Regions from separate parts of the Homo sapiens genome. Here region 2 is linked to region 1. Evidence: promoter capture Hi-C in human tissues and cell types (Jung and others, 2019). All regions are on one chromosome and are shown on one strand. The core of a region is centred on a gene start or on the middle of the fragment in contact, and the rest is flanking DNA. Distances in the headings are between cores, read along the strand shown. Region 1 holds the start of SMURF1 (SMAD specific E3 ubiquitin protein ligase 1). Region 2 holds the start of GJC3 (gap junction protein gamma 3).

Region 1 (3,026 bases), core at 178-2,677:
TAGGCCTGAAATCCCAGCACTTTGGGAGGCTGAAGCGGGCAGATCACCTGAGCTCAGAAGTTTGAGACCAGCCTGGCCAAAACAGCGAAACCCCATCTCTACCAAAAATACAAAAATTAGCTGGGTGTGGTGGCTAACGCCTGTAATCCCAGCTATACAGGAGGCTGAGACACGAGAATCACTTGAACCTGGGAGGTGGAGGTTGCAGTGAGCCAAGACCGTGCCACTGCACTCCAGCCTGGGTGACAGAGTGAGACCCTGTCTCAAAAAACAACAACAACAACAACAAGGTAGTGGGTAAAAAACAAGTTTGATAAACCTAGTTTTCCCTCTTTCTAATAATACCAGTTTATTTCTATAACATGCTAACAGAGAGGAGTTTGTTTGCTGGAGAAAGCGCATAATGAGCTTTTTCTGTGTGTGTGTGTGTGTGTGTGTGTGTGTGTTTTGAGACAGTGTCTAGCTCTGTCACCCAGGCTGTAGTGCAGTGGCCTGATCATAGCTCACTGCAGCCATGAACTCTGGGGCTCAAGTGATCCTCCCACCTCAGCCTCCCAGTACCTGGGACTACAGGCGCGCACCACCATGCCCAGCTAATTTTTGTATTTTTTGTAGAGATGGAGTCTCCCTATGTTGCCCAGGCTGGCCTCAAAGTCCTGGGCTCAAGTGATCCGCCCGCCTCGGCCTCCCAAAGTGCTGGGATTACAGGCTACAGCCACCGTACCCAGCCATGAGCTTTTGGTTCTAACCTGCAACCCCGGGAGAAGGGGAAATTTAGCAGAAGACATGGGAACACAAACCACAATGCCACTTTCTTGTTTGGTAAAATTGTATGCAGAATGGATAATAACAAACATCCGCCTCTCAACTTTATCCCTCCCTCTCATCTCGTTTTCCTTGTCCGTATATGGCACTTCTGCGATTCTGGCAACTTTGTTATGGGTCAGTGGAGCACACCCGTTGCACAGAACACACCTAAGGGCTTTGTCTCTTTGAGAAGTCCCTCCCTTGAACTTGCACGATCGAAAGCTCTTAACTGAAAAAAACTGGTATTGCACGCCTGTGTGCAAGGAGCTTGGTGTGGACACAGCCCACGGTTTCATGCAAACCACTCTTCAGTCACTCAGGAGCCCAGAGCCTCGCAGAGACAGGGGTCAAGACAGAGGGCGACCGCGCGCTGGGTCCCGGGGCCAGCTCTGCTCTCCCTTCCCGGGCTCGGGGCCAGACCCTCCCACCCACCGACCACAGGAAGGGTGAAGACCCCAACCCGCGGGATCCGGGCCCCGCGCGCCCGAGGCAGGCGTGCGGGCGACGTAGCAGCGCACCCCGCCCCGCCCCAGCGTACGTGGCGGGGGCGCGCACGCACGCAGGCGCGGGGGCGCGCAGGGCCGGGCCGGCACGGCGGCGGGCGCGCGCGCGGCTCGGAGAGGCGGCGGCAGCGGCGGAAGCGGCGAGGGCGGCGGGCGTCCGGCTCTGAGGTGGTGGAGGCGGCGGAGGCGGCGGCGGAGGCGGCGGCGGCTCGGGACTGGGCTCGGCTGGAAGCAGCGAGGGTCAGAGCGCCGCAGCAAGCGCCGATCTCCCGGCTCGACCATCCGCCTGCCGCCCGGACGCCTGGGCCGCGGAGTTTGTGTCCCGGCTCGGACCCCGGCGCCCAGCCCGGAGCCGTAACCTTGAGGCGGCGGCGGCGGGGCCGGGCCGGGCCGGGCTGGGGGGCGGTGGCGCTGGATCCGCGGCTGCCCGATCGTTGGCGGGAGATGTCGAACCCCGGGACACGCAGGAACGGCTCCAGCATCAAGATCCGTCTGACAGGTACGGCCGGCGGGAGGCCCACCCGCGCCCCGGCGCCCCCTCGCCCGCCCCGGAATTCCCCGCAGGGCGCCCTTGGAAGCGGCCCTCCCCCACGCCGGCCGTTGTCCCAGGACCTCGTCACCCCCTTCGGCGTGCGCCCCTCGCTTCTCCCTCCTGGCCCCGCCCCCTCGCCGTTGCCCGGCCCCGCCCCCTGGCCGCTCGCGCCCCCTCGGTCTCGCGTTCCCTCCCGTTCCCCCGCACCTGCCCCCTCGCATCTCCGTCCTGGCCCCGCCCCTCTCATTTCCATTCATGGCCACGCCCCTTGCATCTCCTTCCCTGGCCCCGCCCCTCGCTTCTCTTTTCCTGGCCCCGCCCCTTGCATCTCCTTCCAGGCCCTTTCCCCTCACCTCTCCCCGGCTCGGCCCCTTGCCTCTCGCTTCCCTTCCTCTCCCTAGCACCTGACCCCTCGCTTCTCCCCCCAGGCCCCGCCCCCTTGCCTTTCACCTCCATCCCTGTGGTCCTTTCTCTTCCCCACCTTTCCTCCCCAAACCTGACCCCGCCCATCTCTCTGGCCCCACCCCCTCGCTCCTCTCTGCTCCCGCCTCCTAACTTTCTGTCCCCGCCCCCTCGCTTCTCCCTGCGTCCAGCTCCCTCGCTTCTCTCTGGTCCCGCCTCCTCACTTCTTTCCTAGCCTGGGCCCTCACTTCTTCCTGGTCCCGCCTCCTCACTTCTTTCCTAGCATCGGCCCTCACTTCTTCCTGGTCCCGCCCCCTTGCTTCTCTCCTTTTTTTCTCCTCCGCCGTTTTTACCCCCTCCCTCCTTCTCCTCGCTTCCCATCCTCTCCGCCCACCTGCCCCCTCGCTTTTCCCTCCTGGCCTTGCCTCTGTTCCCCTGGTCCCATCCCTCACTTCTCACCACTTTCCCATCATCTCTCTTGCTTTCCTGTTTTCCCTCCCACCTGCTCCCTCCCCTCATCCTCCTGGTCTTTCCCACCACTTCCAAGCTATTTTGCTACCTCCCCTTCCACTTGCCCCCTTGCTTCTCCCCTCCTGCCCCCACCCACCCTCTTCTCACTCCCCCATCCTCTTTCGTTTCTCCCTCACCCCCCCACACCGTCCTCCTCCCTTCTTCCCCTAGCCCCGCCCCTCACTTTCAAGCCCCGCCCTCATTCCTGCCTAGCCCCGCCCCCTCGCTGCTGTCTGGCGAGGCCTCCACCCTTTCTTTCCTTCAGCCTGAAA
Region 2 (2,969 bases), core at 328-2,827, 790 kb before region 1:
AGCTACTCAGCAGGCTGAGGCAGGGGAATTGCTTGAACCTGGGAGGCAGAGATTGCAGCGAGCCAAGATCGTGCCAGTGCACTCCAGCCTGGTGACAGAGCGAGAGTCCGTCTCAAAAAAAAAAAAAAAAAAAAAGAAATAGAACAACTGGAACAATTGTAACAATATGCTGGCATCACTACTCTTGCTTTTTGGGGCTATTCTTAAGTAAAATAAGAGTTACTTGAACGAGTATTGATAGTTGATCTGATAACCAAAATGGCGATTAAGTCACAAACCAGCAAGGAGCGTCTACAGCGTTGGATACCCTGGACAAAGGGATGATTCACATCCTGGGTGGGATGGTGTGAGATTTCATAGTGCTACTCAGAACAGCACACAATTTAAAACATTAATTTTGTATTTCTGGAATTTTCCATTTAATATTTTTGGACCTCTGTTGACTGTGGGTAACTGAAACTGTAGAAAGTGAAATCGCAGATAAGAGGGGGGACTACTGTATTAGGTTCTAGCATATGCATCTTGATCATCATTCAGACCATACCACATGGTCTTCTGAGTGTGAGGGTAACCAGATGAGTGAGAATTTAGGCTAAATGGGGACGGTTTGAAACAGCTGCTGGGCATTGGGGAAGGCAGCTGATTAGGACAAATATAGAGATGGTGAACTTGGGCTTGTAGCATTGTGGTATTTTGGCTGGGGAACAGAGGGATTTCTGAAACTTATCCTTGATCATGGTCGCCTGTCACCATGAGGGAGATAATATGCCCAAGGAACAATGGCAAGTGGGGGTCAAAAATCTGAATTTCTATCTAGTCAGTTCTGGCTCTGGCCCCAAATCCTATAGTATGTAATTCTGGTAAATTCTGCTGGGTTACCTTCCAAATGTTCTCTTCTTCCTCAGCTTGTAAGGCCTAAGAGCATCAGACTAAAGCAAGCCTCGATGCTTGCTCTGTTCATTTCATCCATCACATCTAGCCCCATAACCTAACTACCTCTCAACTTTACCACTGTGATGGGAGAAGAGGACATCCAGACACACCTGTGATCATCCAAGGGCATGGAGGAAGAGAAAAGAAGACCGCAAGAGAATGCACATTCCCTCTCAGCATCAGCACTAATTTGCTTAAGATGATGCTGTAGGAGCACCAGGCCTGGCAGCCATCAGCTGGGGAAGCAATACCTTTCAAAGGAAAATTAACAAAACATCCCAGTCTACTCTCTTACGTTCAGCCTTTGGGAAAGAGAGACGGAGGGAAGGAGGGAAAGAGAGAGATGAAGATGTATCCTGGTCTCTCCAACCTGAGAGTTCCTCTCCACTCCAGCAGTACAGAAGGGGAGGGCAGAAGAGAGAGCCACACCACACACACTCACTGTTATTATTTTACATAGATGATTTCATTAAGTAGTAAAGAGGTGCAATCAGAGTCTTGGTATTTAATCAGTCAGATACTTGGAGAGGAATAAAAAAGCTTGCCTTCAGTGATCCTTGGATTAGGAGTGACAAGGTGGACTGGAGCTCCCTCTGAAGGACAGTGAACAACACTGATCTCTTGTCCTCTGCTCCAAAACAGGATGTGTGGCAGGTTCCTGCGGCGGCTGCTGGCGGAGGAGAGCCGGCGCTCCACCCCCGTGGGGCGCCTCTTGCTTCCCGTGCTCCTGGGATTCCGCCTTGTGCTGCTGGCTGCCAGTGGGCCTGGAGTCTATGGTGATGAGCAGAGTGAATTCGTGTGTCACACCCAGCAGCCGGGCTGCAAGGCTGCCTGCTTCGATGCCTTCCACCCCCTCTCCCCGCTGCGTTTCTGGGTCTTCCAGGTCATCTTGGTGGCTGTACCCAGCGCCCTCTATATGGGTTTCACTCTGTATCACGTGATCTGGCACTGGGAATTATCAGGAAAGGGGAAGGAGGAGGAGACCCTGATCCAGGGACGGGAGGGCAACACAGATGTCCCAGGGGCTGGAAGCCTCAGGCTGCTCTGGGCTTATGTGGCTCAGCTGGGGGCTCGGCTTGTCCTGGAGGGGGCAGCCCTGGGGTTGCAGTACCACCTGTATGGGTTCCAGATGCCCAGCTCCTTTGCATGTCGCCGAGAACCTTGCCTTGGTAGTATAACCTGCAATCTGTCCCGCCCCTCTGAGAAGACCATTTTCCTAAAGACCATGTTTGGAGTCAGCGGTTTCTGTCTCTTGTTTACTTTTTTGGAGCTTGTGCTTCTGGGTTTGGGGAGATGGTGGAGGACCTGGAAGCACAAATCTTCCTCTTCTAAATACTTCCTAACTTCAGAGAGCACCAGAAGACACAAGAAAGCAACCGATAGCCTCCCAGTGGTGGAAACCAAAGAGCAATTTCAAGAAGCAGGTGAGAAGGACACGCTCTCTTCCTGTCACTGATGTTTGTGTCCTGATGATCTCCTCCCGGGGCAGGTCCCTCACCTTTCTGGGAAGTACAACTTCTGCATGTTACAAAGTAGGTAACCAGGTTCTAGGCAGATGTGTTCTGACCGCCACTCCCAACCCTTTTCTTTGTTCTCTCTTGCTCTCAAAATCTATCCCAATGTCCATCCCCATCAACTTGATGGTTCCTTCCAGCGAACAAGGACAAGAGTGCTAGTCCGTTGTCCCTCCTGAACTTCCATTTAGGTCTCTCTCCACTTAGGAAAAATCTCAGCTTCTTCTTGATTCTCTACTTTGCAGAGTTATAAAGACACCTGACTTGCCTGAAGGAAACTCTGTGATTGAATCTTCTTTCCAACATCCAGTGAGTGGGGATTCATGTCTGTGACAAATTAGAGGCTGTTGAAGGATCTCTAAGGGCCCCTTGGGCCATGTAGTCTAAAGCATTTCCTGACTGTGCCTTTTCACTGGAATTTTCTGGTGTCAGCATCACAATTTTTATGGGCTTGGTTCAAGAGTCAGCCGGGAGAAGCCTCCCTAAACTGTGTCTCTCCCCTGTCCTGCTCAATAAATATTG

Evidence for each region. The method cuts DNA at HindIII sites, captures the fragments that hold promoters and counts their contacts. A contact is called where the count stands out against the background at its distance.
Region 2: the fragment with the promoter of GJC3 here is called in contact with the fragment with the promoter of SMURF1 in region 1 in 1 of the 25 tissues and cell types used here (lymphoblastoid cells).

The regions. Positions count from the first base shown.
Region 1 is chr7:99,142,509-99,145,534 of GRCh38, reverse strand. It overlaps SMURF1 (SMAD specific E3 ubiquitin protein ligase 1), which reads left to right and starts at 1,427. Exons shown (of 18, transcript NM_181349.3): 1 at 1,427-1,809. The coding sequence starts at 1,755. RefSeq lists silencers at 1,166-1,665, 1,806-2,135, 2,196-2,245. The HindIII fragment of the contact is 7,331 bases long and covers 20-3,026 here.
Region 2 is chr7:99,928,228-99,931,196 of GRCh38, reverse strand. It overlaps GJC3 (gap junction protein gamma 3), which reads left to right and starts at 1,577. Exons shown (of 2, transcript NM_181538.3): 1 at 1,577-2,357. The coding sequence starts at 1,577. RefSeq lists enhancers at 1,194-1,778, 1,779-2,364. The HindIII fragment of the contact is 8,959 bases long and covers 1-2,969 here.